Regions from separate parts of the Homo sapiens genome. Here regions 1, 2, 3, 5, 6 and 7 are each linked to region 4. Evidence: promoter capture Hi-C in 16 types of primary human blood cells and fetal thymus (Javierre and others, 2016). All regions are on one chromosome and are shown on one strand. Each heading gives the region's core, a stretch centred on a gene start or on the middle of the fragment in contact. The rest is flanking DNA. Distances are from core to core; before and after follow the strand shown. Region 1 overlaps PARL (presenilin associated rhomboid like). Region 2 holds the start of LOC124906309 (a long non-coding RNA gene). Region 3 overlaps MCCC1 (methylcrotonyl-CoA carboxylase subunit 1). Region 4 holds the start of MCF2L2 (MCF.2 cell line derived transforming sequence-like 2). Region 5 overlaps PARL (presenilin associated rhomboid like). Region 6 overlaps MAP6D1 (MAP6 domain containing 1). Region 7 overlaps ATP11B (ATPase phospholipid transporting 11B (putative)).

What was found. Contacts are between HindIII fragments. The CHiCAGO score rates a contact against its expected background, and 5 or more counts as called.
Region 1: a contact is called between a fragment that was not itself captured here and the fragment with the promoter of MCF2L2 in region 4, in 2 of 17 cell types (fetal thymus and megakaryocytes). The highest score is 5.9, in fetal thymus.
Region 2: a fragment that was not itself captured here is called in contact with the fragment with the promoter of MCF2L2 in region 4 in 1 of 17 cell types (M1 macrophages); the score reaches 5.3 in M1 macrophages.
Region 3: a contact is called between a fragment that was not itself captured here and the fragment with the promoter of MCF2L2 in region 4, in 1 of 17 cell types (M1 macrophages). The highest score is 5.0, in M1 macrophages.
Region 5: a contact is called between a fragment that was not itself captured here and the fragment with the promoter of MCF2L2 in region 4, in 1 of 17 cell types (megakaryocytes). The highest score is 5.4, in megakaryocytes.
Region 6: a contact is called between a fragment that was not itself captured here and the fragment with the promoter of MCF2L2 in region 4, in 4 of 17 cell types (endothelial precursors, M1 macrophages, megakaryocytes and 1 more). The highest score is 6.6, in endothelial precursors.
Region 7: a contact is called between a fragment that was not itself captured here and the fragment with the promoter of MCF2L2 in region 4, in 1 of 17 cell types (endothelial precursors). The highest score is 5.4, in endothelial precursors.

Annotation. Positions count from the first base shown.
Region 1 is chr3:183,831,450-183,835,731 of GRCh38, reverse strand. PARL (presenilin associated rhomboid like) reads left to right here. Exons shown (of 10, transcript NM_018622.7): 8 at 1,907-2,008; 9 at 2,143-2,240. Among named protein-coding and RNA genes, the nearest start is that of MAP6D1, 8.0 kb to the right of the region's middle. The HindIII fragment of the contact is 651 bases long and covers 1,125-1,775 here.
Region 2 is chr3:183,031,956-183,036,042 of GRCh38, reverse strand. MCCC1 (methylcrotonyl-CoA carboxylase subunit 1) reads left to right here. Exons shown (of 19, transcript NM_020166.5): 14 at 1,966-2,052. It overlaps LOC124906309 (a long non-coding RNA gene), which reads left to right and starts at 2,059. Exons shown (of 2, transcript XR_007096188.1): 1 at 2,059-4,087. The HindIII fragment of the contact is 3,389 bases long and covers 676-4,064 here.
Region 3 is chr3:183,047,726-183,051,538 of GRCh38, reverse strand. The region is part of intron 9 of MCCC1 (methylcrotonyl-CoA carboxylase subunit 1); the gene reads left to right. Among named protein-coding and RNA genes, the nearest start is that of MCCC1, 50 kb to the left of the region's middle. The HindIII fragment of the contact is 1,144 bases long and covers 1,233-2,376 here.
Region 4 is chr3:183,426,225-183,430,050 of GRCh38, reverse strand. MCF2L2 (MCF.2 cell line derived transforming sequence-like 2) reads left to right here and starts at 1,432. Exons shown (of 30, transcript NM_015078.4): 1 at 1,432-2,149. The coding sequence starts at 2,074. RefSeq lists a silencer at 1,603-1,682. The HindIII fragment of the contact is 2,747 bases long and covers 1-2,161 here.
Region 5 is chr3:183,870,690-183,874,736 of GRCh38, reverse strand. The region is part of intron 1 of PARL (presenilin associated rhomboid like); the gene reads left to right. Among named protein-coding and RNA genes, the nearest start is that of PARL, 12 kb to the left of the region's middle. The HindIII fragment of the contact is 3,561 bases long and covers 42-3,602 here.
Region 6 is chr3:183,812,415-183,816,186 of GRCh38, reverse strand. MAP6D1 (MAP6 domain containing 1) reads left to right here. Exons shown (of 3, transcript NM_024871.4): 3 at 1-265. It overlaps YEATS2 (YEATS domain containing 2), which reads right to left. Exons shown (of 31, transcript NM_018023.5): 31 at 3,563-3,772. Among named protein-coding and RNA genes, the nearest start is that of YEATS2-AS1, 3.8 kb to the right of the region's middle. The HindIII fragment of the contact is 3,273 bases long and covers 1-3,108 here.
Region 7 is chr3:182,917,984-182,922,132 of GRCh38, reverse strand. It overlaps ATP11B (ATPase phospholipid transporting 11B (putative)), which reads right to left. Exons shown (of 30, transcript NM_014616.3): 30 at 504-4,110. The coding sequence ends at 4,029. Among named protein-coding and RNA genes, the nearest start is that of DCUN1D1, 60 kb to the left of the region's middle. The HindIII fragment of the contact is 761 bases long and covers 1,727-2,487 here.

The DNA.
Region 1 (4,282 bases), core at 201-2,700, 410 kb before region 4:
CCACGTCTGGCTAATTTTTGTGTTTTTAGTAGAGACGGGGTTTCACTATGTTGGCTAGGCTGGTCTTGAACTCCTGACCTCAGGTGATCCACCTGCCTCGGCCCCTCAGAGTGCTGGGATTACAGGCGTGAGCCACCGTGCCCGGCTACAATTATAGTCTCTTGCACAGAAGCCAGCTTGGTCAAAATTCAGGTCTTCTTGGGTCCTCCTTTTGAGGAGTGTTCATGCTGTCCTTCCATCTTGCAGTTACCCTGACTTCTAAGAATGCAACCCGAGCTTGTTTCCCTGTTGAGGCCACTTGGCAGTTATATGAGGGACTGGGGACATCTGAGATCTCTGGGACTCATAATAATTTTCTTTAAAGTTTTAGTAATTCCCCAAATGTAAGATAATCTTGTATTCTGAAGCAACCCGTCACATAGAAGACATTAAGAAAACATTGATTAAGAGAGGTAGATGCTATTTTCCAGAAACAACCGTTTTTATATGAAAAGGTAGGAACCTTTCTTTTTAATGATAGGGGCTTCTTTCAAAAGTTATTTTGCTCTTAGGTGTCTTTTTTTTTTTTTTAAACATCTCATTCATAAATAATTAAAAACTTATGGAAAGTTGCAGGAAATAGTACAGAGGACTCCCATAAAGTCTTTTTTGTTTGTTTGTTTTGTTTTGTTTTGAGACAGAGTCTCGCTGTTTTACCCAGGCTGGAGTGCAGTGGGACAATCTCGGCTCACTGCAACCTCTGCCTCCCGGGTTCAAGCAATTCTCGGGCCTTAGCATCCTAAGTAGGTGGGATTATAAGCATCCGCCACCACGCCCAGCTAATTTTTTTTTTTTTTTTTTTTTTTGTATTTTTAGTAGAGACGGGGTTTTACCACGTTGGTCAGGCTGGTCTCAAACTCCTGACCTCAGGTGATCCACCTGCCTCGGCCTCCAAAAGTGCTGGGATTATAGGCGAGAGCCACTGCACCCAGCCCCATGTAGTCTTTTTAAAAAGCAGGCAACTCAGGTTTACTAGTTAACATGCAAAAAACTGCACATATTTAAAGTTTGGTAAGCTTTGACATGTAGACACCCGTGAAACCATCACCACACTCAAGATCATGGACATATTCATCCCAAAAGCTTCCTAGTGGTCACTCCTTCCTGCCCCTCCTCTACCCCTGGCGACAACTTACCTACTTCTACTAAAGATAAATTAGTTTGCAAATGGAACCATACAGCATATACTAGTATTTGTTGTCCTGGCCTCATTTACTCTGTATAATTACTTTGAGACTCATCCATGTTCTGTGTATCAGTTTATTCCTTTATTATTTTTGAGACAGGGTCTTACTCTGTTGCCCAGGCAGGAGTGCAGTGGTGCAATCATAGCTCACTGTAACCTTGACCTCCTGGGCTTAAGGGATCCTCATGCCTCACACTGTGCTGGAATTACAGGCGTGAGCCACCACACTGGCAATGTTTTGTTTCTTTATGAAGATGAATAAAGATTTCACATGAATTTTTTAAGATGAAACATGCTTCATGCATGCAGGTTTCTTTGGGCGTATTCATGCCCACTCCCTCTGGTTGGAGCTTTGTCAGAGAAGTGTGAGCAGTTCTTTCCTAGGCCATAGGTGAAAGATGCGCATGACACGCTTAGCACTGTCCTTGCGGTTCATGAGGCACATACATCTTACTGCCCCGTAGTAAAAATTCAGTCTTTCCAAGCGATTACTGTGTGAAGGACATTTAGTTCCTTCACCTATTATTGGGGACATAAGTAACTGAAAGCTTTGAAGCTTTGTGCTCACCTAGAAATGTGCAGCATGTAAACTTTCTAGAAAATGTGCTGCTCTTTAGACCTTGTAGCCACTAAGCAGTTGCATATTGAGTTTCCCATTCTCCCTGCTGTGTTACTTTGCAGTCTGGTGCCATCATGACAGTCCTCGCAGCTGTCTGCACTAAGATCCCAGAAGGGAGGCTTGCCATTATTTTCCTTCCGATGTTCACGTTCACAGCAGGGAATGTAAGTATTTTTATGAAGTGCAGTGCTGGGGATAGTGGTGATGTTTTTATGTTGAGTGGGTTCTTGCCCTTAAGTTAGAAATGTCAGTGCTGGAGCAATCACAGTTGTGCCGCTTGTTTCTTGCTGCCTTTCAGGCCCTGAAAGCCATTATCGCCATGGATACAGCAGGAATGATCCTGGGATGGAAATTTTTTGATCATGCGGCACATCTTGGGGGAGCTCTTTTTGGAATGTAAGTTTGAGTGTAATTGATTGCTAAACTGCTTCCTTGGGTCATGCGCTCCTCCTACCCCAGCCTCACCCCTACCCCCCATCCCCATGGCAGAGACATTGAACTATGCAACGGAAGCAGAAGCAGGTGGGCTTGGGAGGGTGAGGAAACCTCAACGTGGCTTGCTTTGGGTTTACCCAGCATACCTGGCTCATTGTAGAGACAGTCTGTGCCTTTACCCTACGCTTAACCTTAAGTTGCCCCAACTGTTGGCCTGTTATTCCCAGCCCCCTCTTAGAAGACTGCAGCCTGGCCCCCAGTCTATGCTGACATCTTCTTTTTCCCCTTCAGACTTTCCTGCCCTCCTCTCCCCTGCCTGGCGTCCCACCCTGCTACCCTGACCTCTGTCTCGCCAGTGCTATTTAGACATGCTGAGTTGGCGGAGCCATTGCTCTGTATGACTGGAGTAGAGGCCGGTGACTGCAAACCAATGTGGACCACTTACTGAGTACCCGCTGTATGCAGGCACCAAGCTAGTTCCCTTATGTTATACTATTACTACTCCCATTTTACTGATGGGAAACTGAGGCTCAGACATCATCTTCCCCAGGCCAAACAGCTCTTCAATAGCAGAGCAGAGCTGTAAACCCACCTCTATAAGCCCTTTCCACCCCCACCACACCATATGGAATTGGTTGCTAAACTGCTTCCTTGGGTCACAGCAAATGGCATTGTGGTTACAAGACCTTCCACGTGTGCTTCAAACAATGGGGTTTTGCCTAGACTAGTGCTTAGTAGTAACTGTATCACGGAAACACGGTCAGGACTCTTGGCGTCCATCTGATCGTGGGAGACCCGTCAGCATGAGCTGGATCCCCTCGGGGCCTGTCTTTTCTTACATAAATGTTGCCTTTTGCCCTTACTTGGTTTTTATTTTGTTCCGCGACAATGGAAAACTTAATTTTTTTTTTTATTAAAAAGAAAAATCTATTCTGGCCAGGTGCAGTGGCTCACGCCTGTAATCCCAGCACTTTGGGAGGCCAAGGCAGGCGGATCACAAGGTCAGGAGATCGAGACCATCCTGGCTAACACAGTGAAACCCCGTCTCTACTAAAAATACAAAAAACTTAGCCGGGCGTGGTGGCGGGCGCCTGTAGTCCCAGCTACTCGGGAGGCTGAGGCAGGAGAATGGTGTGAACCCAGAAGGCAGAGCTTGCAGTGAGCCGAGATCACGCCACTGCACTCCAGCCTGGGCGACAAAGTGAGACTCTGTCTCAAAAAAAAAAAAAAGAAAAATCTATTCTAAGTGAAGCAGTTTTTCCCAGTAGGTGGCAGAACTAAATGCCATTATGCCATTTATAATTTTAAGTGATTAAAGAGGAGTAGTATGTAGTATATGCAAGGTCTAGCTCTAACAGCAGTGCAGTATAAATAGTAGAAACTGACCTGATATTACAGTATGAGAAACATGAAGGGGTTCTGTTTTGTGAGCTCTAAATTTATCTTCCATGTATACTTCAAGGCTCTTCTCCCCAGTAGATTTTTATTCATCTGAACTATAATTAGGTGGCCTTTTTCCATTCTGAAAATAATTGGATCAAATGCATTTTAAAGTCCAGGGTCTGAAAGGTGGAGGAATCCTTTCTCTTTACTGTTTCTAATTTAAACTCCTTTTCATTTACTAGATTTCAGTCATGTCCAGAATTCATCTTTTCTAAAAGCTTTAATCTAGATTTAGAAATCTAAAATCTTTTATTTATTTTTTTTTCGTTGAAGTGCCCTGATTTTGTTGGTGGTAAAGACTCCATTAGTATCCACTTATACATTTCCCTGACTTTGCCTCTGACCAAACCTTACAGTATTCACATTGTACTGTTGCAATAATAATAGCTAACATATTAATACGCTGAATATTTGCTGTGTGCCTAAGCTAAGGATTTAATTCTCTTAAAATCCTGTGAGGTATTTTATTTTACAGAAAAAGAAACTGCTTAAAGAAAGTAACTTATCCAGGTCACACAAGTAACAATTGCAGAGCTGGAGTTTCAGATGAGGGCTGGCTT
Region 2 (4,087 bases), core at 1,121-3,620, 390 kb after region 4:
CAATGAGATCACTTGGACACAGGGTGGGGAACATCACACACCGGGGCCTGTCGTGGGGTGGGGGGAGGGGGGAGGGATAGCATTAGGAGATATACCTAATGTAAATGACGAGTTAATAGGTGCAGCACACCAACATGACACATGTATACATATGTAACAAACCTGCACCTTGTGCACATGTACCCTAGAACTTAAAGTATTAAAAAAAAAAAGTTCTGCCCTTTAAATTGATACAAAATCTCAGCTCTCACATACTTTTTGCATTTCAGGCTAGCTCTGACTTTCGGAGCAAACAGAATTTTTAAAAATCTGATCTATTTTTCTCTTTTATTGGTAATTATTATATTACCCTATACAGTTTGAGCATCCCAAATCCCCAAATCCAAAATGCTCCAGAATCGGAAGCTTTTTCAGCACTAACATGATGCTCAAAGGAAATGCTCATTGGAACAGTTCAGATTCCAGATACTTGGATCAGGGATGCTAAGCCAGTTAAATATAATGCAAATAATCCAAAATCCAAAAAAAAAAAAAAAAATCTGAAATTCAAAACACTTCTGGTCCCAAGCATTTTGGGTAAGTGATACTGAACCCGTATTATTATAGGATCCTATCATTAGAATCTTTAATTTCTGAATTCATTTAGATTCATTCAAGATAGCTGTATGGAAAGCTTAAAATGTAAAATGTTTTAAGTCCCGAAAACTGCATCTTTAGAAGATTTGTGCTCTATCCTCATTTTATCCTTTTACATTGAATGAAAATGCATCTAAATACGTCCCATGTGGTATTCCTGAGCCTGACCTTAACGTTTTTAGAATGGAACGTTGTCTTACTGTGACCTTCCTTTTGAAAGTTTATAATTGGTACAGATATGAGGTTCAGAATAAATTGCATCAGCTTAGCTATGCTGAAGCTCCTGGATATTGTCCAATAGAGGATATACACCCAAATGCCTATAAGGGGCCAGGCGCGGTGGCTCATGCCTGTAATCCCAACACTTTGAGAGGCCCAGGGCGGGTGGATCACTTAAGGTCAGGAGTTTGAGACCAGCCTGGCCAACATGGTGAAACCCCATCTCCACTAAAAATAGAAAAGTTAGCCAGCTGTGGTGGCACCCACCTGTAATCCCAGCTACTCTGGAGGCTGAGGCAGGAGAATCACTTGAACCCAGGAGGTGGAGGTTGCAGTGAGCCAAGATCATGCCACTGCACTCCATCCTGGGCGACAGAACGAGACTCGTCTCAAAAAAGAAAAAAAAAAAAGGCCTATAAGGGCTGGGCCAACAACATAAAAACATAAAAGAGTAAAAGAGGCCAGGTGAAAGAAAAATAGTGAATAGTAGAGACTGGTGACCTGGAATGAATTTGCCCCATCAAAAGGTGGTGACTGTGGTACAGTTTATGCCACTATGGGATTAGAGTTTAGATTGCAAATATTCAGATTCTTCAATAGAAGCTAGAATTTTTCACATGAAATTTCATAAGATGTAAACAAAACCAGCCCTTTAAACTTAACAAGAAGAACAAAAAAAGCACATCTGAGCTGCCAGTTTAGGACGTGTGTTTTTTTGTTTTTTTTTTTTTTTGAGACGGAGTCTTGCTCTGTCGCCCAGGCTGGATCCGGTGCAGTGGCGCAATCTTGGCTCACTGCAAGCTCCACCTCCCGGATTCACGCCATTCTCCTGCCTCAGCCTCCAGAGTAGCTGGGACTAGAGGCGCCCGTCACCATGCCCAGCTAATTTTTTTGTATTTTTAGTAGAGACGGGGTTTCACCGTGTTAGCTAGGATGGTCTCGATCTCCTGACCTCATGATCCGCCCGCCTTGGCCTCCCAAAGTGCTGGGATTACAGGCATGAGCCACTGTGCCCGGCCAGCACTTGCATTTTATGTTTTCTTTTGTAAGGTGTAAATTTCATAGGCTTGATACTCATAAGTTTGTTACTGAATTTTAAATTTTTTCTAGATCAATTCTCTCCATTTTCGTCTAGCAGTGGAAGAAGACTGAATATCTCGTATACCAGAAACATGACTCTTAAAGATGGTAAAAACAGTAAGTAATGTTTCATTAAAAGAGAAATGTGAGTCATAGAAATGTATCACATTAATCTGAAAAAGAGGATTCCAGCCTGGCCATGATCAGTCAGTTACATTTTTTAAATGCCTAGGCTAAACATTGGAGGGAAATATGCCAATATAATAGAATTGATTGGCTCTGGGTAGTAGAGTTGATGGTATTTGCTTTTCTTCTTTACACTTTTTAAAAATTTTGTAAATATTCTAAAAATATGTCATAAAATAAACATAGCAAAACAGCTGAAATGAAATATGCCAGAATGTTAGAAATATGCCCAAAAAAACCTCTTTTTCCCCAATTCTTTGTACTTTTTTTTTTGCTTTGCAATTTTTCTGCAGCGAGAATGTATTACTTTTAAATAAGAAAAACAGTTTTCAAAACTATGTCAGAGAGGGACGATTACCCACTGCCCATGCAGTGTTTCAGGGGTTTCAGGTGGAAGTGGGTCACTGCAGAGCTGTAATTTATTAAGTGCCTTATCTGATGTAAGTTTTTATCTTCACAACGTAAATGAGGGGGAGTCGCTGTTATACCCACGTATGGAAGATGAAAGCATGGATGGTAAGGCACAGAAGTGAAGTAGTTTAGTCAAGGCTAGTGAGTGGCAGAACTAGGATTCACACCTACTCTTTGTGACATTGACTCTTAGGCTGTTTCCACCACTTTTCCAGTAGAAAATTGATTTTTGATTGTAAACTAATTTGAGTTGGCTCGACTTAGTGACTGATTTTCTTTAACTGATGTCAAAAGAGGCTGACGCTTAAGCCAGAAGGCAGTTTATAAACTTTTGGCTGGAGCAGTGTAGCAGCAGGACCAGAATTCTATGATAGCTGGTCACTGTATCCCTTCTGCTGTGAGACAGTTTGTGTGGGAGGCCCAATGGGCAGAGTCAGAGCTCAGAATCCTGGCTAACCTTGAATGTGACATGTCATTGAACTGTGACAGTTCTGGTATAAAAATATGCCTCCCAGGTAGAGCAGAATACTTTCACCAGCTGATCACAGAACGCTCTTCCTTGGACAGAGGAAAATCTCTTTTACTTCACCTCTATGAAGACACTCACCCAGTAACAAATTTTTTTTTTTTTTTTTTTGACACAGACTCTGGCTCTGTTGCCCAGGCTGGAGTGCAGTGGCACGATCTTGGCTCACTGCAAGCTCCACCTCCTGGGTTCGTGCCATTCTCATGCCTCAGCCTCCCGAGTATCTGAGACTACAGGCACCCACCACCACGCCCGGCTAAGTTTTTGTATTTTTAGTAGAGACAGGGTTTCACCATTTTAGCCAGGATAGTCTCGATCTCCTGACCTTATGATCCACTCACCTCAGCCTCCCAAAGTGCTGGGATTACAGGCGTGAGCCACCATGCCAGCCAGTAACAAATATTTTGTTCACACAAGTTTATTGGGTTACAGCTCTTCAGTTATTTTTCAATCCTGAGCCTAGATGGTCATTATCTTAAGTGCATTGGGCATATTGTTAAGCCTTTATAATGAAAATTTGTAAACATCTTTATATAGTAGCATTCTGCAAATGGTTAACCCATCCATTTATGCTCATTTCATCCTAAAAAATACAACCCCCCAAATCTGGAAGTATCTTATTCTAGACTCCTATATGCTGAATGCAAATATCAAAAGCGGTAAAGTTTCACTGGCTTCTTCAACCTGAATTGAACAGAAGAATTACATATTTGATTGTAATTCATATAGGCCAACTGTGTTATTTGGCATGGCTCTTCACTAAAGCACCAAGCACTGATTTGAAGTATGTTGCATTTTTTGGAATTAAAAAAAGTTTTCATGAAAAAATAAATACATAATTGAAAAGCCAACATGATTGCTGTTCACTACACCCTTTTGGCAGTATTCTATGAAAATAATCCAAGTCTGTATGTAAGAGCTTTCAGAAAATGATACATAGCTAAGTCTCCAAAAAATGCTAATAAGCAATGACCACAATTAAATAGAATGCATGAAACAGGAAGCTTAAGAGACCAGGCTGGTCACAGT
Region 3 (3,813 bases), core at 555-3,054, 380 kb after region 4:
CTCTGTCTATTCATCCTTTCATCCCCCCTAAACCCCGGCAGCCACTCATGTTTTTACTGCCCCCATAGTTTTGCCTTTTCAAGAATTTCAGATAGCTGGAATCATACAGTATGTAGCCTTTTCCGATTGGCTTCTTTATAATATGCATTTAAGTTTCCTCCATGTCTTTTCATGGCTTGATAGCTCATTTCTTTTTTATGCTGAATAATATTTCGTTGTCTCGATGTCTCAGAGTTTATTATCTATTTAGCTACTGAAGGACATCTTGGTTGCTTCCAAGTTTTGGCAATTATGAATAAAGCTGCTATAAACACCCTGAAAACAAACAGGCTTTTGTATGGACATAATTTTTTAGTTTATTTGGGTGAATACTAAGGAGCGTGCTACTGGGTCACATGGTAAAAGAATATTTAGTTTTGGAAGAAACTGACAAACTCTATTCTAAAGTGACAGTACTATTTTGCATTCCTGTCAGCAACAAAAGAGGTTTCCTGTTGCTCCAAATCCTCTCCAGCTTTTGGTGATGTCAGTGTTTTGGATTCAGGCCATTTGGTATCTCATTGTTTTAATTTGCACTTCCCTAATGACATACAGTGTTGAACATCTTTTCATATGCATACTTGCCATCTTTATATCTTCTTTGATGAAGTGTCTGTTCAGGTCTTTCACCCATTTTTTAATCAGGTTGTTTGTTTTCCTATTGTTGAGTTTTAAGAGTCCTTTGTATATTTTGAATGACAGTTCTTTATCAGATGTGCCTTTGCAAACACTGTCAGTCTGAGGCTTGTCTTCACTTCTCAACTTTCCCTTTCTTTTTTTTTTTTTTTTTTTTTGAGACAGAGTCTCACTCTGTCTCCCAGGCTGGAATGCAATGGTGTGATCTCGGCTCACTGCAACCTCCGCCTCCCAGGTTCAAATGATTCTCCTGTCCCAGCCCCCTGAGTAGCTGGGATTACAGGCACGTGCCATCACACACCCAGCTACTTTTTTGCATTTTTAGTAGAGGCGGGGTTTCACCACTTTAGCCAGGCTGATCTCAAACTCTTGACCTCAGGTGATCCGCCCACCTCAGCCTCCCAAAGTGCTGGAATTACAGGCTTGAGCCACCGCGCCCGGCCGACTTTCCTTTTCACAGAGCAGAAGTTTTAAGTTTTAATGAAGTCCAGTATATAAATTATTTGTAGATCATGCCTTTGGTGTTGTATATAAAAAGTCATCACCATACTCAAGCTTGTCTAGGTTATATTATACTCAGCTGGCCTTGTGCTTTCTGTTTTGGAAGGTTATTAATTATTGACTTAATCTCTTTAATAAATATAGCTATTCAGATTCTCTTTTTTTAATTTAATTTTATAGAGACAGGGTCTCATATTGCCCAGGCTGGTCTTAGACTCTTGGCCCCAAGGGATCCTCCTGCCATGGCCTCCCAAAGTGCTGGGATTACAGGCGTGAGCCACCATACCTGGCCTATGCTCACTGCAACCTCCACTTCCTGGACTCAAGTGATCTTCCCACCTCAGCCTCCCAAGTAGCTGGAACTACAGGCATGTGCCACAACACTCAGCTAATTTTTAAATTTTTTAGTAGAGACAGGGTCCCCCTGTATTGCCAAGGCTGGTCTCAAACCCCTGAGCTCAAGCAGTCTTCCCACCTTGGCCTCCCAAAGTGTTGGGATTACACACATGAGCCACTGCACCTGGCCCTAGGTTCTCTCTTTCTTGTAGGAGTTTTGACAGATTGTGTCTTTGAAGGAATTGGTTCATTTCATCTAGGTTATCAAATTTGTGGGCATAGAATTATTCATAATATTTCTTTATTATCATTTTAATGTCCATGGGACCTGTAGTAATAGACCTCTTTTTGTTCCGTTACTAGCAATTTGTATTTTCTCTCTTCTTTTTTTCTTAGTTAACCTGGCTAAAGGTTATTGTGCTTTTGTTTCTTTTCTTTTTTCTTTTTTTTTTTTTTGAAACAAAGTCTCATTCTGTCGCCAGGCTGGAGTGCAATGGTGAGATCTTGGCTCACTGCAACCTCCGCCTCCTGGGTTCAAGCAATTCTCCTGCCTCAGCCTCCCGAGTAGCTGGGAACTACAGGTGCACGCCACTACACCCAGCTAATTTTTATATTTTTTTAGTAGAGATGGGTTTCACCATCTTGGCCAGGATGGTCTTGATCTCTTGACCTTTTGAGCTGCCCGCTGTGGCCAAGGTTACTGATTTTATTGATCTTTTCAAGGAACTGGTTTGGGTTTTGGTGATTTTTTTCTATTGATTTTCCATTTTCAATTTCATTAATTTTTGCTTTAATTTTTATTATTTCTTCTGCTTACTTTGGATTTAATTTGCTGTTCTCTTCTCATTAATTAAAATATAAGCTTAGATTCTTGATTTTGGTATTTTCTTTTCTAATATATACATTCAATGCTATAAATTTCCCACTAAGCACTGCTTTTGATGCATTCTACAAATTTTGAAAGTTGTATTTTTATTTAGTTGAGAATATTTTAAATTTTTTCTTGAGATTTCTTTATTGATTCAGGTGTCATTTAGAAGTGTGTTGTTTAACATCCAAATATCTTAGGATTTTCCAGATATCCTTCTGTTAGTGATTTCTAGTTTAATTCTGTTATGTTCTGAGAGCAGACACTGTTATGATTTATATTCTTTTAAATTTGTTAAGATGTGGTTTATGGTCCAGAATGTGGTCTATCCTGGTGAATATTCCTTTCTAGCTTGAGAATGTGTTCTGCTGTTGTTGGATGAAATAGTCTATAGATGACAGTTGTATCCAGTTGATTGATGGTGTTGTTGAATTCAACTATGTCCTTAGTGATTTTCTGCCTGCTGGATCATCCATATCTATTTAATAACAGATGGGTGTTAAAGTCTCCAACTGTAATAGTGAATTAATCTATTTCTCCTTACAATTCTTTTTTGCTACATATATTTTATGCTCTGTTGTTAGGTACATGCATGTTAAAAATTGTTATGTCTACCCTTTTATCATTGTTTAATGCCCCTCCTTATCCCTGATAACTTTCCCTGCTCTGAAGTTTGCTCTAAAATTAAGATGGCTACTCGCACTTTCTTTGGTGTTAGCATATTCTTTGTCTGTTTTTACTTTAAGTCTATAAGTCTTTAAAGTGGATTTCTTGTAGGTAACATATATTTGTCTTTTGTTTTTTAATCTACTCCAACAATCTCTGTCTTTTAATTGGTATATTTAGACATCAACATTTAAAGTGATTATTAATGTACTTTGATTAATATTTACCATATTTATTATTGTTTTCTATTTATTCCCCTTGTTTGTTCCTATTTTTATCTTTCAGACTTTTTCTGCCTTTCATGGTTTTAATTGAGCATCTTCTATGATCCAATTTCCTCTCCTTTTTTAGCATATCAAGTACAGTCATATGCTGCATAACACCATTTTATTCAATATAACAATGGTTCCATAAGATTAAAATGCAGCTGAAAAATTCCTATCCAGTGACATTGTGGCAACTGTAACATCATAGTACAATGCATTACTTTCTTTAGGTTTAGATATATGTAGATACACAAATACTTACCACTGTGTTACAGTTGCCTACAGTATGCAGTAACATGTTATTATTGTTTCAAATATTACTTCTGTTCCTTCCTTTCTTCTCCTTCTGGTATTCTCGTTCTGCGTAGTTAATACCTTTTGTAGTTGTCTTGCAGTGCTAGGTATTGTTCTGTTTAAGGTTTTTTTTCTCACTGTTTTTCAGAATTGGAAGTTTCTGTTGTCATATCCTCAAGTTCAGAGGTTCTTTCCCTGCCATACCCA
Region 4 (3,826 bases), core at 183-2,682:
CCAAAGTGCTGGGATTACAGGCGTGGGCCACTACGCCCGGCCTTTTAACCCTTTTTTGAATCTCTTGCAAAAGGTGGTTGTGAAAATGGTTGCTCAGTGGCCGGGCATGATCACTTGAGTCCATGTGTTTGAGACCAGCCTGGGCAATATGGTGAAACTCCATCTCTAAAAACGAAAAAAAAAAAAAAGAAAGAAAAGAAAAAGAAAATCCTTGCTCTGTTTTGCAGGCAGAGTGCAAAGTGCCCAAACTTCACAGGGGGAAGAACCTCTCCACAAATCTCATGACACAGGTGAACTGACCTCGCTTCTCAATCACAGCCCACAATTGTTAGAGAAAGCATTAAAAAGGGCTGGGCGCGGTGGCTCACGCCTGTAATCCCAGCACTTTGGGAGGCCAAGGTGGGCGGATCACGAGGTCAGGAGATCGAGACCATCCTTGGCTAACACGGTGAAACAAACCCCATCTCTACTAAAAAATACAAAAAATTAGCCGGGCGTGGTGGCGGGCGCCTGTAGTCCCAGCTACTCGGGAGGCTGAGGCAGGAGAATGGCGTGAACCCGGGAGGCGGAGCTTGCAGTGAGCTGAGATCGCGCCATTGCACTCCAGCCTGGGCGACAGAGCCAGACTCAGTCTCCAAAAAAAAGAAGAAAAGAGAAAGCATTAAAAAAATACCCTCAGCCCCCTGTGATGGGTGGCTACTCCTAGAATTTGGATCCAGGGTGTTTGCGGCTTGGCTTTTTACATATCGAAGAGGAAAGAGATGGCTGAGAACATCCGCCTGGGTGGTCCCGCCATTCCGCCTGCTGAGTATTCAGGGACTCCCGCTGTAGAAAGGATTGGGGGACAACCTGACCGAATTCGCATTTGCTCAGGCGTTTCCCGTAGCGCTCTGCTGAACTGGGGTTAGTCTTTTGCTGCCAGTCAGAAAGTGTCTGGGCCCAACTAGGGAAACCACGGGATAATGGGCTGATGGGGAGGAGGACCAGCATGGAGGATGTGCCACAGCCCCTCCAGAAGGTAGCACTGGCGTGCCTGACAGGTGACAGACGGAGCAGAGGCAAGGGCGCAGCTGCACGAAGGAAAACGCCCACATAGGGGGTGAGCGCGCCCACGCGTGCTCAGCCTTGTCGGAGCGCAGCCCGGGCGCCGGGCTCCCAGTGCAGGTGTGGCCAGCGGAGGTCAAGAACTGCGTGGAACAACCCCAAGTGGGGGAAAACACACGCCAGCCGCCCCCGGGGTCAGGAGGTGGGGCAAGCAGCGGCGCCTCACCCAGCCTCCCGCTCCGGGTCCTGCCGGATGGCGGCAGCTCTCCGGGCCAGCCCCCTTCTCTCCGCGGCTCCTCCGCAGACACCCGGCGCGGAAGAAGGAGGGGCGGAGACCTGGCCGGCGCGCGTCTGATGATCCGGACCCCGGTGCGACTGGAGCGCCTCAGTCACTGTCTCCCCGCCCCACGGTTCCGAGTAAGGACCGGAGCTCCACTCCGGGGGTGGAGCGCGGGCTCCCCGCAGGGAAAGGTGCGCAGCGTTCCCGACCCCAAAACGAGCGGCGCTTGGGAGCGTGCGTGCCTCCCCGAGAGCCCCGGGCGCCACCCGTGGGCTGGACGAGGTGGGCGCTGGGGCGTGGGGCCGGCGGCGCAGAGAAGCCACGGCCACCTGCCGCCTCCCCTGCACCTGGCGGAGCATCCCTCACTCTACAGTCCCTGGAGGCGGCGCCGGAAACCTGGCGGCCGGGACCGCGATTCTGGAAGCCCCGGAGCTCGCCCGGCCGGAGGAGCCGGGGCGCGGTTCCGGCGAGATTGGCGACTTGCTTCCTTTTGCAGAACGGCCGCTCCTCTCTCGGTCCAGCTGCGACGCTGGGAAAGCGCCAGACTTGGTCTGTCACGGGAGCCCCCGCGGGGCGTGGCGAGGGAGAGCTGGCCTAGGCTGCGAGGGACTCTCGTTTCTTGCCTGGAGAGCCAGGAAGAGGGCGAGGGCAGAGCATCCTTGGGCGGAGATGCCTTTAAAAAATCATCCACCGCAGCGGTAGAAACAGTTTTGTTTGGCTTTATTTATACGGAATGGTTTTTCAGTGAAATGCTGTCTTGCTTAAAAGAAGAGATGCCTCCCCAGGAGCTCACCCGGCGACTGGCCACAGTGATCACTCATGTCGGTAAACGAAGCTTTAATTTTTCCTGCGTTTTATTAATGGCGGGTGAGGATGGTCTCTGGGCTTCATCTGGCTCCTGGCCTCACCCGCTGCCCCGGGGCAGCGCGCTTCCTGGGGGGTTGCCCGGCATCTGGGCCTCGCTGCTCTGGGTCCTGCCTGCGGTGCCCAGCGGGGGGCATCCCTGGGGCGCGCCGCTGGTGGGGGTCGGGGGGCCGAGGCTGGTGCCTTCACCAGGTGGTTGCCGAGTCCGTTGAGCTCCAAACCGAGGGCTGCTGGGCTGTTACCATCCGTTAGCTGCTTCTGACGGGAGTAGGGTGGGTGGGAAGTTATGTTCTGGTTTTGGGGATAGTGAGAAAGGAGAGGGCATAAGAGGAACGAATGCCAGTGCTTTTCAGCAGAAATGATTGCCACGCCACTGAAGGCTTGTTTATAAGAAAGTGCAGGGAGAGGCAGGTTACATGGGAGCGCCCCTGCGCAGCTCGGCCGCTAGGCCTGTTTTACTGTGCTGCCTGGAGGGTTAAGCACACCCCTGATGATCCCCGCGAGAAATCTCTGCAAGCCAAGGAGACTGAGCAATTTTAATCTTCTTCCCTGAGTTGAAAAGAGGAGCAAAACATGCATTGCTTGCTCCTGAAATAAGGGTTGTGATGGAACGTCAGGCCCCACAGACTAAGTAAGGGCAAGAGGACATTGAGACAGTTCCCAGTCAGTTTTTTCTTAGCACTTTCTTCCCCTTGGCCTTCCCTGGACCTCCCTCAGTAAAGACACACATTCAGGTTCAGAACCTCTGGATGTGGGCAACTGGAATTATCGGGATCATTTTCTCTGTTGCTGACTGTGCTTGGAGGTCCTCCCATGAATGCAAATCAGCTTTTATTGATAAAGCCAGGAACTATTTGCCTTGGTTTTCTACACATTTGTGAAAGCTGCTTTCTTGGTACTTGCATGTTAAATGTTGCCTCAATTAGTCCAACGTGTTTGCTGTAATAATCGTGCACATCTCAAATGATACACTTGTGAGGACATACTTTGTAAAGATGATTTATATGGGAAGGCCCAGTTTTGATAATTCAAGTTTAGAAAAAAGTTTCTGGTGCCAATTGTGGGCACTGAACTTTTACGACAAAAGATCAGTAGGATCCTACCAGGTAAGGTTGAATGTGAAATATTGCTGAAGGCAGTGTGAAATAAGAGGAAAAAGAACTTGTAATGAAACAGAATTCGGAATCTGCAATATGATGAAAGTTGAAATGATTGTGCTAAAACCCAGCACAGGCATGAAGTTGTGGTATAGAGAAAGAGCAGTGGACTCGGGGTGTGACCGTCTGGATTTGAATCTTTCCCTGGACAAGTCATTCGACCTCAGGTTGAAAAATAGGAATTTTAATAGTACTTTCCCACTCAGCTCAAAGGCTACTTGTGAAGATAAGTAAGATAATTTGGGTAGAAATACTGTGTACACTGTGATTATACAGACATTTCAGTTATTAGACATATCCCTGGTCCCTCTGTCACGCCACTAAAGATCTTTGGTGGGTTACTGGGCCTCTCTCAGGGCGAAGCCTCCCATCTGTTAAACGAGGGGTTGACCTGGATGATTTTAAAGGTCCCTCCTATTTCTCTGGAGCAGGCTCTTCTTGAAAATCTGGCAGGCAGTATTCCTTGACTAACACTTAGCTG
Region 5 (4,047 bases), core at 573-3,072, 440 kb before region 4:
CTGGCCTATCTCAGCTTTTGACATGCCTTCTTCACTAAGCTTAATTATTTCTAATTGGCTGGGCACTTTGGGAGGCCGAAGCGGGAGGATCACGTGAGGTTTGAGTTCGAGACCAGCCTGGCCAACATGGCGAAACCCCATCTCTGCTAAAAATACAAAAATCAGCTCGGTGTGGTGGCAGGTGCTTGTAGTCCCAGCTACTTGGGAGGCTGAGGCAGGAGAATCGCTTGCACCCGAGAGGTGGAGGTTGCAGTGAGTCGAGATCGCGCCACTGCACTGCAGCCTGGGTGATAGAGCAAAACTCCATCTCAAAAAAAAAAAAAAAGATTATTTCTAATGATTTCAAGCCAGAGACATGTGACTGTTCCTTTCAGCTTGAACACTTAGCGGTGATTGTAGGGTTATTAATTGACCAGTGTCAATATTGTTGTGTTCCAAGGAATAGGGGGGTCCAAAGAGAGGGAAAGGTGGGCAATGGCTGGTTGGTAGAGCAGTCAGAACCTACACAACATTATTAAGTTCATTGTCTCATGGTTCATGGCACCCAAAACAATTTCAGTAGTAACATCAAAGGTCACTGATCACAAATCACCATAACAGATAAGAAAAAATTGAAGTGTTGTGAGAATTACGGAAATGTGACACAGAGCCACCAAGTGAGCGCATGCTGTTGGAAAAATGGTGCCAAAAGACATGCTAGATGTATGGTTGCCACAAACCTTCAATTTGTGTAACAAACTTGGGATATCTGTGAAGTACAATAAATCGAGGTATGCCTGTGTGTGATGTATTCAGTATGTGTACCTACTGATAAGTTCTGAACTTAACCCTGGGGCCAGCTTGTGTAATGTACTCTTAATGTCCTCAGCTTGATGCACACTTCTGGTGAGATCCTCGAGGTATATATTTTAGGCAAAAAGGTCTGGCTTTGCCTCAAGTCCAGATTCCCAACCTAGCGTGTTTATGTTCCTTTTAAAACTTGTGCTTCAAAATTTTAAGTGAATTGGTGACAGGTAGAAGTAGTTTTTTATTAGAATTGATTGTGTAGTATTAAGCTGTTGGAAATACAAATCCTTTGTATTTCTTATCCTTTGTATTTCTCAGTCCAGTACATGACAAATGCTAGGAACCAAGATTACTGGGTTACAACTTGCCATCTTTAATTAATTAATTAATTTTTTTTTTTTTGAGACGGAGTCTTGCTCTGTCACTCAGGAGCTCTCACACTGGAGTGCAATGGCGTGATCTCGCCTCACTGCAACCTCTGCCTCCTGGGTTCTAGAGAGTCTCCTGCCTTAGCTTCCTGAGTAGCTGGGATTACAGGCATGTGCCACCACGCCTGTAATCAAAATACAGGCGTGCGCCACCACGCCCAGCTAAGTTTTGTATTTTTAGCAGAGATGGAGTTTCACCATGTTGGCCAAGCTGGTCTCGAACTCTTGACCTCAGGTGATCCTCCCACCCCAGCCTCCCAAAGTGCTGGGATTACAGGCGTGAGCTACCATGCCCGGCTGTCAACTTGTCATCTTTATGGTAAATATATTCCTATTACTTTATGATACACCTTTGTTTTGGCCCAAAGTGGCATTACTTGTTTTGATTAATTAATTGCGACTTTACTTACTAGACCTATCTCCAGGTTACTTTGGGATCTTTAAATCAAATCCAGTTGCAAAAAGTTAACATCTACCACTTTAAAAATTATACCAGGAATACATTTGGCAGTAAATAAACTGATGGTTGTTTAAATAAGAAGGGGAGTTATTTATCAAATATAGGATGATGGGAGGTAAGTGGCTAGTGTCTTTGCTCAGTGGCTCAAAAATGTCAAGGTTAGTGTCTGAATCCCTTGGCCTTTCTCTTGGCATTTGAGATGACTGCCTCGTCTCTAGGCATTATATTCTTATTTAAGGCAGAAAGAAGGGGGTGTGCTTGACATCAGTGACGTGTCCATTTTTATCAGGTAAGCAAAACCTTTCCAAGGGGCTCCTGAAAAATTCTTATGTTTCATTTGGCTGTAATCCTGTGTGATATGGTTACCACTAGCTCTAGGGGAGCCTGGAAAAGTGAAGATATTTCCTATTACAGAAAAAGCAGGCAAGGGGAAAGGGTTGGAAATAGATTTGGGATTAGCTATTCAACAGGGTTTGCTAAAGGATATTCGTTATAAGACTGGTAACAGGCTCTGAAGGGAGTTAAGAGCCATTTAGAGCAACAGTACCATTGGTTGCATAAGTTTATAACTTTCCAAAATAGATGAACTTACTCAAACCTTTTCTGCTTTTTCTGTAATAGATTTCTTTGAAAGGAATATCACTTATTTGGAAGTATAAATTCTGAAATTAAAATCTCAAGTCAAATTATAATCACTTTCCTCACTGTGATTTCTGAGTTGAATTGAGTGGACTCAGTGTTGAAGAGAAAGGGCATTCTTAGGCCAGGCATGGTGGCACATGCCTGTAATCCCAGCACTTTGGGAGGCCGAGGCGGGTGGATCATCTGAGGTCAGGAGTTCGCGACCAGCCTGAATAACGTGGTAAAACCTCGTCTCTACTAAATACAAAAAAATTAGCCAGGTGTGGCAGTACATGCCTGTAATCCGAGCTACTTGGGAGGCTGAGACAGGAGAATCGCTCGTACCTGGGAAGTGGAGGTTGCAGTGAGCTGAGATCACGCCATTGCATGCCAGCCTGGGCAACAAGAGCGAAACTCCATCTCAAAAAAAAAAAAAAAAAATGCATTCTAGGCAAGTAATAGTAGTAGTAGCTATGCTATTATTCTGAGTTTCATTTATTTCCAAAATGCCTATTAAGATACCTCCACCTGGATGTCCTATGAGCATTCTTTTAAATACTTTATTGAGATACAGTTTACATATAGTAAAATGTATAAGTATTAAATATACAGCCAGTGCATTCTGATTAATGTATACACCTGTGTGACTATCACCTAAATCAAGATAAAGATGGCCGTCATCCCAGCAAGTTTCCTCTTGCTCCTTTCCTGTCAAGCCCCACCCATTCCAGGCAATCGCTCATCTAATATTTATCACTACAGGTTAGTGTGTCTGTCAACTTCTTAGCAATGGAAGTCACAGAATCACATATCATGTACTCTTTTGTATTTTACTTCTTTTGCCAAAAGTGTTTTTGAGAGTTATCCATGATGTATGATTAGTTCTTCCCCACCCCTCCCCCCCAAGCCTTTTTTTTTTTTTTTGGCCAAGTGTAATATTCCATTATATGAATATACCACAGAATTTCTCCTGTTAATGGAAATTTAAGTTTCAGTTTTTAGCTAGAGGAATGAAGCTGCCATGACTGCAAGCATTTTAAACAGCACCCCAGCTGGAATTGTTCGTCTCTTATCTCCCAGTTGCCTATTTTGAGGCTTCCAATTTTCCTTATCTTATTGAATAGTACCACCTTACTTTGAATATAGTACCACCTTACTTTGAGTATAGTACCACCTTGAGTATAGTACCACCTTACTTTGAGAATAGTACCACCTTACTTTCAGTATAGTACTACCTTACTTTGAGTATAGTACCACCTTACTTTGAGTATAGTACCATCTTACTTTGAGTTACTCACAATAAAGCTTAATCATTTTTTGATCCCTTTTTTATTCTGACAGATAATTATTGACCTTTTATTAGGGACTAGACTTGGTGATAGAGATATAATGAATATAAAACTGTAATCTAATGGGGGCGTGGGCAGTAGTGGAGATAAGTATTAAAAAAACTGCTTTGGAACTCTAGAAGTGCAAAGGAGAGAAGTACCCAGCCTGGGGCAGCTAGGGAAGACTTCCTGGAGGAGGAGATATATTAACTGAAATCTGAAGGGCCCAAAAAAGTTAAAGGGAAGTATATACCAAAATATGAGTAGCATTGTCGTAGTTAAGAGAGCAAAACAGATCATAGGAACTGCAAGAAAGTCAGTATAACAGGTATAGAGAGGATTTGAGGTGGCAGAGGGAGGAAGTGGCAAGAGAGAGGAAGGGGTCGGATTGAAGGGATGTGTGCTGAGTTTGATGGGGTGATGA
Region 6 (3,772 bases), core at 223-2,722, 390 kb before region 4:
TCCAGCTCCGACTGCCTGTCAGCGTCCCTCCCAGGTGCTAGCCCTGGCAGGCACAGCCCTCCCCTCATGCCAGCAAAGGAAATGCTCTTGATGAGAGGCTCGCTTTAAAGAAGCCCAAAGCGTGTGCTTATCCAAGGGGTTCAGCTATTCCTGACTTCACGGCTTGCATGTTTGATTTTTCTAAGAGAAAAGAGGCTGCCTGCTGGGTGTCTGTGGAAATGAGATTAAAAACTGTACAATCTCAGATTTTACTAAAATGCAAAAATGTAGTTTCAGTTTCTTAAATTATAAGCACGAGTCTTCTCACGCTTGTTTTCTCCAGTCTCTTGGTGCTAAGGACTTCAGTGTGGTGCAGCTGCCGCCACACCTCAGAGGCCTGTTGATGCTGAGCACTTCTTGCTGTGGGGTGCAGAGCACATGTGGTAGGTGCAGCCCACAGAACCCACCCGTCCCCTACCCTCACCCAGGCGCCTCTCTCTGAAGCTCCTCAGGCTCTAATCCCAGCTTCACTTGCTACCTGTGAGCAACTGGGGTTCCGTTTCTTCACTGAGAAGTGACGACGCTACCAGCTACACCTTGTGGCTTGCCAAGAGCATCCGTGTTTATGGGTGGGGTGCTCAGTACAGGAAATAACTGAGGCACAGGTGTTAGGATTATTCTTTCCTGCCTTAGTCCCCCCTCCTCACTTTCCCTGGGAGCCAGCTGTGTTCCCACCTGCAGCTCCCAGCATCCTCTAGCTTGATGCCGTGTGCTCCCAGCCCCTCACCCCCCCTGGCCAACGTCACCCTGCACAGCGCCCAGATGCTTGTTTGTTCTTTTCCTATAATGGGCTGGTCAGCTCTGCTGCAGCTCAGCCAGGACCAACCGGGCCTGCCCCTTCCTGGCAGTGCTGGTGGGGCAGCCGCAGTGGAGGCCTCACCACACCAGACAGGCCTGACTGCAAGACAAACAAACAGATGGTCAAGAGCCTCTGCAATGCACAGCAGACAGCTTTTCACAGACACCAACTCCAGTGTTGCTCTGAGGGTGCATCATCATCGAGGCAGGGTCTTGCTTTGTCACCCAGTGGTGTGAACACTGCTCACTGCATCCTCAACCTCCTGGGCTCAAGTGATCCTCCCGCCTCAGCCTCTCGAGTAGTTGGGACCACAGGGGCATGCCACCATGCCTGGCTTTTTTTTTTTTGGCTGTCACCCAGGCTGGAGTGCAGTGGTGCAATCTCGGCTCACTGCAACCTCTGCCTCCCACGTTCAAGCGATATTCTCCCACCTCAGCCTCCCGAGTAGCTGGGATTACAGGCGCCCACCACCATGCCCAGCTAATTTTTGTAGAGACGGGGCGTCATGTTGGCTGGGCTGGTCTCGAACTCCTGACCTCAGATGATCCTCCCATCTCAGCCTCCCAAAGTGCTGGGATTACAGGCGTTGAGCTATCACACCCGGCCATTTTTTATTTATTTTTGTACATTTTGTAGAAACAGGGTCTCCCTATGGTTGCCCAGGCTGGTCCTGAACTCCTGGGCTCAAGCAATCCTCCTGCCTCAGCCTCCACAAAGCACTGGGATTGCAGGTGTAAGCCACTGCACCCAGCCTGGCCTCTTTATGAGGAGATGTGGGTTATGCTGAAACTCCTTCCCACTCACTTAGGTCTAAATAATCAGGCCTAACATGTTCAGCAAGTGACCCAAGAAGCAACTGAGACAGACAAGTCTCAACCATGTGGTCCCAACTCATAGCTATCTATCAATCATCTCTCACACACATACATAATACGCATATAAGACTGAAAGAAAGGCACTGAGAGATGTTAGCAGTGATTATCTTTCAGAGGAGGAATTATGAGTAGTTTTTCAAACACATTTTTTATGCTTGCTAAAGTTTCTGTAAACATTTTTATAATAATTCTGTAAAGAAAAAGTTCTTAAAAATAAAAAGCAAGCCAGGCATGGTGGCTCATGTCTGTAATCCCAGCACTTTGGAAGGCCAAGGCAGGTGGATCACTTGAGGTCAGGAGTTTGAGACCAGCCTGGTCAACATGGTGAAACCCTATCTCTACTAAAAATACAAAAATTAGCCAGACGTGCTCACTTGAACCCAGGAGGCGGAGGTTGCAGTGAGCTGAGATCGTGCCACTGCACTCCAACCTGGGCGAGAGAGCAGACTCTTTTTTTTTTTTTTTTTTTTGAGACAATGGAGTCTTGTTCTTGTCACCCAGGCTGGATGGAGTGCAATGGCACGATCTCGGCTCACTGCAACCTCCGCCTCCCAGGTTCAAGCGATTCTCCTGCCTCAGCCTCCTGAGTAGCTAGGATTACAGGCACCTGCTACCACGCCTGGCTAATTTTTATATTTTTAGTATAGACGGGGTTTCACTATGTTGGCCACGATGGTCTCGATCTCCTGACTTTGTGATCTGCCTGCCTCGGCCTCCCAAAGTGCTGGGATTACAGGCATGAGCCACCGTGCCCGGCCCAGACTCTGTCTCTAAATAAATAAAAAGCAGTTCAACATGTTAGCAAATTCCAGACAAAAGAAAATGTTAACTTTTTAATTATTTCACAACCCAAGCTGCCACTGCGGGAGCTGCCTCAAGCAGCCACGGGCTGCACTATGACGCTCTGCAGGTGGAAAGTCCTAAAGATCCTTCCGCAAGTCGAGGGGGTTTGCAGGCATTTAGAACAAGGTCTCGCCTCTCTGTGCTCCATGGTACAGAACTCCAGGACTCAGGCCACGTTCCCAAAAGCAGCTTTTGAAAAAAGCTAGGCCCTGCAGCCCACCCCAGACAAATGGAAGAACCTCCCCTTTGAACAGGGTCAAGATGATGATGAAGCCCCAAAGCCAGTTCTGTTGGCCCCGTTCACACAGGACTCCTTCCATCAATAACTTGGAGTCCAAGTCACGTAAGGTACTGCCTGTGACACTGATCTGAGCCTGCTCTCGCTCCTGCCAAAACCTTGGCTGAGACAATGAACATTTATGAAGGCAAGCCTAGGCACACCCCTCTCAGCCATCAGACTCTTTGACTCTCCATTATGACTCTCAGCAAAGTCTGGTCCCCAGAAAGTTACATACTTGGACTGTATCATAATGCCTTTGAAGAACCAAAGCTTTCAAAATCTTTCAGCTCTTACGTTTCTGGATTTTTCACTATTTCTGAGCCATATGCTAGCAGATGGTCACAGCATAAGGACCGTGTCACAGGAGTGACTTGTTTCAGTCCTCAACACAGTCCAATTTTACCCTGCCAGATAACCCGGTATGTTTCTTTGTTAGACACGAGGAGCTGATTCTCTCTCTGCCTTGGCTTTAAGGAAGCTCTGAGCTCATTTATGCAGTTTTCTTTTGCCCCAAGCTGTCAGGAATAATTATGTCCATTTCCAAATTTTTTTTAGACTTTTATGTAACTGTAATCCTTTATCTTATACGGTTGCAACATTTTTTTTTTTTTGGCAAGAAGTAGAGGAATTAATTTAAACATATCAATAAGACTCTACACCATCACCTCATCCCAGTGCAGGGAGAACCCTGCCTGAGTACCATGCTTCAAACTCAGAAACACCCACCACAAATACCAAAAGATTTATTGTAGACAATTTTGTTACACAATTATACACATTATGATACACGTTTGAAACATTAACACACGTGGAGACTGCTAAATCATTTAATATTTCTTTTGCAAAAAGATAATTTCTTTAGGCTGTGATACCTGCAATAACCAATCTGTTCTCATTTGGATCAGATCTTTCTCCCTCTGTCCTGGAGATCTCACA
Region 7 (4,149 bases), core at 858-3,357, 510 kb after region 4:
AAAGACAACAGCTTAACTTTTTAAGCAGATGTAGATTAGACAATTATGTCTGTTCTAACTTGCAACCGAGGAAGCAGTGCAAATAACTGGTTGTCAGGAAGCTGGAATATTTTATATGGACGTATACATTCTATTATCAATCAATCAATCAGTCCTATATTTTTAAAAAAGCACATATTTTCTATGAACCAGGCCATTTCCAAATTCACAAGTGCTCTTGGCTGGCTTTTCATGAATGATGCAATTTCTAGTTGAGGTATGCTGGTATCTACAGCTGGCACATTCCTATCAGAGCCTTTTCCAGGAGTTGTACTGATGATGATCTATAAAAGCTGGGTAAGAACTACATTTTAAAAAACTGCAGTCAGTGAAAGGCATAAATGATATCCCTGTGCTATAATGAAGGGTAAATACAGTAAAACTTAACTTGAAACAAGTTTGGCAGTGCAGGTTGTGATAAACAGAGACAGGCTTAAAATGCTTAAATAAAGGAACACTTTTAATTATATAGGAAAGTTTTTATTTGATAAATATAACTTCATAAACTTTAAAAAATTATGAGTAGCTGTACAATAATATACTACATTTACTGACAATGCAGAGAATTTTTAAAGGATTACATTAGACAGCCACAGTGTCTCAGGTCCAAAATTTTAAACCAAGTATTGCTACAATATTTCCAGATACTCATTCCTCATAAAAATCTAAATTACCATGATTACAAACATATCATGAGTTATGATCTATTTTTTATAGGAACAACATTCAAGTTATTTCACATAAAACAGCACTTTAATAGTGTTTTACTTTTATGAAAATAGATAACTCATTTCAAAATAGAAATAAAATGTCTGTACGTGGGGACCAAAATTAATAAAACATGTTTTACGTAACTCTTTGGTGTGTTATTTTTATTAATACCTGCTTATATCATACCCCAAACTGATCTTTACAGGAAAAACACCAACATGGAAGATTCTCCCTTTTCCTACAGCCTTCACGAGATTTTTCAGAGTAGCATATTTTAAAAACTTTTGGCTCTTAACTGTCAATTTTCTAGTGGCCTTGACTCCTGCCTATTAGGAGTCTCAAGCGATCAGATAAGTTCAATCTCACAATCTTTTCCAGTAGAAATGACCTCAGTCCTGGTACTAACCGTAGGGCAGAATGCAAGTATTTCCTAGGGTTGATTTGCCTCTGTTTAGTCTCCTGTTCAGGATAGGGCCTGGGTGTGGCTCAGGTCTGGAAGCCTTTGTGTATTATGAGCTTTAGACCCAAGAAAGAGGACAGTTAGAAAATTCAGACCATAAATTCTCCCCTTTTCTCAACTCGACAGCAGGTCTTCGTAGCTGTAGTTCTCCCTGGCCCATACTTTGCTCCGCCCAGGGTGAGCCTACGCCTGCTGAAGCTGAGGCAGGGTGCTGAGTCACTTAAAGCAGCTGAGGGGCAATTTTGGAAACTGACTTGGTGCTTGCCACTATCTTCAGGCTTACAGCCCTCAGACGAGGCAAAGGGAGGCAAATCGATTTGAGACCACTGATTAGCAATAACGTATTTAGCATTTTGCTCTGGTTTTGGCAGATAAGGGTAAGTTAATTATCAACATCATACTTTCCAAAGAAAGAATTTTAAAGAAATATGCAAAGGGGACACTTTCCTTGTGATTACTGGTTACGTAGTAAGAGTTTTACAGGATGAATATAGCACTAGAAAACTACTGAAAGCTTGCAGACTGCATTGTTACTTTCTTAAATAAATAGAAAACTCTTTTCTTAAAATCACAAGATAATTTTGCTTTAAAAACGGAGTGGATTTGGAGTAACAGTTCAGGATGAGCACACTAGTGGTTGCCATTTACTTTTTTTAAAAAAATAAAGTTCTCCTTAACTAACTTCAAATGGTGAGTACAGAAAATTACATCAATCACACTTTAAGCACCATTATAGGCGAGCTGACCTCCTGTCTTGCTGCAGTTGGTCATAGGCTATTTTATGACTTTGGAGTCTTTGTCTGGTGTCAGTACTCAGTTTATTTGATGGCAAATAAACACGGTCATGTAAATGTAATGCAGGCCTACTGGGTGTCATTTTGTTATATGCACGTTTTATAAGAGATTTTATGAGCAAATTTCCATATCCTCCCACCTAGTACTCTACTGAGTATATCTTCATTATTTCCTCTTCTGGAACATGAATTAGTGAATGCAGACATTGTACGTTGTATTATTCTTTTTAGTACTTCCAGAATAACAGATCTTCCTAAATCCAGCTATGAAATATCTAAGTTAAAGAAGGACTATTTTTGAAAATTAATATTTAGCTTAATAACTTAATATCCTTACATCACTGGAACAGACAAATGTTACATTAGCAAGAAAATAATAGTTTACAAGCAAACAAGGATAAAGTCTTAATTTCTGTCTCTACCATTCTTTCCCCTGCCAGTCCAATTCTAGAAGCCTTATATTCATGAAATGGGAAGGAAGCTTAGGGCTGCACAATAAATCTCCATAAAGGAATTACATTTTCAAGGGAAAACTTGGTAAAACCGCATTTAACCATTATCTTAATATGTATACAATCATTATTTGCTTAGAGCTGGGTAATAGTTCTCAAGCTAATAATCACTTCTAAATCTTAAGACAACATTACTTTTCAATAAAACAAAAACAAATGACAATACTGAACTACTTGATAAATTCAGGATGGAAGTTAGGTTTTGAAGTGCAATGAGTTAATTACAGTAACATGTACCCGATTAATCATTCTTAGCATTTAATTTATTGCTAACATTACCTGATACAAGTTGAGCATTTTTACATTCCACAGCCACACCTGAAATATGCCTTGTACTGGGACACTGGCAGAACTCACTGTATTGTGGTAGTTTGCTATAAGTTAGATGACATAACCTGAAAATAAGATTATTAACTGAAACCCTTTATTCTAAAATCTAGCTTATAGAAAGGGAAGAGCATGTCTAAGTCGGCTGCAGAAAGAGGCTCTTCTTTTTGTATTCATTTAATTACCCATACTATTCTGATTTGTATAATTAAACATATTTGCAATATTTAAATACTGTCCAAACTTTTTATTGATATAGTTAAACTGTACAACGATGTCATGAAATACTATACACAGAGCCTTCAGGTAAAGAGAAAAAAAGCAAATTTAAATATGTTAACCAGATTAAAGCATGCAAAAGATCCAATGATAAAGACATTAAATTAATAATATGCTAATAGTATCTAATTTACCCACTATAGGGTCTTTATACTCTGTCACAAAAATATTAGTAAACATCAATTTGAAGTTCGGTGAACGGACCTGATTCCTGATTTGTATATATGATATACCCTTGCATTTATATGGCTAACTTTACAGGCTGTGTTACAGTACAGTTAGAGGAATTGGTATAAATTTACTCCCCATACTGCAGTAAATAATGGTTGGAAATGATTCTCCTAATTTGCTCTGTGAACTCAGAATGCATTAATGAATTAACAACACAGGTCACTGAGGGACCAAAATTCCTCAGTATTCACATTAACTTTTCCCATGAAAAGCTTTAAATATAACTCTAATAAAAAAATAGAGTTCTCAAGGCAAACTTTCAGCATAATTTACAGAAGCAGATTTAAATAGAAGAGTCAATAATCAAGCTAATACTAAAAAATACTCTTTACTAAGATTTCTCTCTTTTTTCTACATTTATATTAAAATATAATGGCCTCAGCAACAGACTGAAATGCCATTAGGAGTCCCATAAGCACAAGGGACAAACCAGACAAAGAGATGAAAAATGTCTCTTTATTCTCAAATTTTAACATGTTCAGATTCAAATTAAGGGTGTTGGGAGGGGCTTGTACTAATGCTTTCTGTTTGTTTGCCATTATAACTCTGAGTGGGTATGAACTACTACAAAGATTTTGGAAATTAATTTCAGAGCTAGTGTGGCCATTAACAGGGTGATCACACTGAATTTTAGGAAAGGAGGTGAACTGGCTCCCACAAAGTACTACTGCCCCTTTAACAAGTAGATGAGTCCATTGTGGAGAGAGTCAAGATGCTCCTGTCGTTGGTATAGAAAGGATCCGATGCACTCCATGATCTAAAGTAACAATAAGAGAAAAGTTTGGCTCACCAGGAC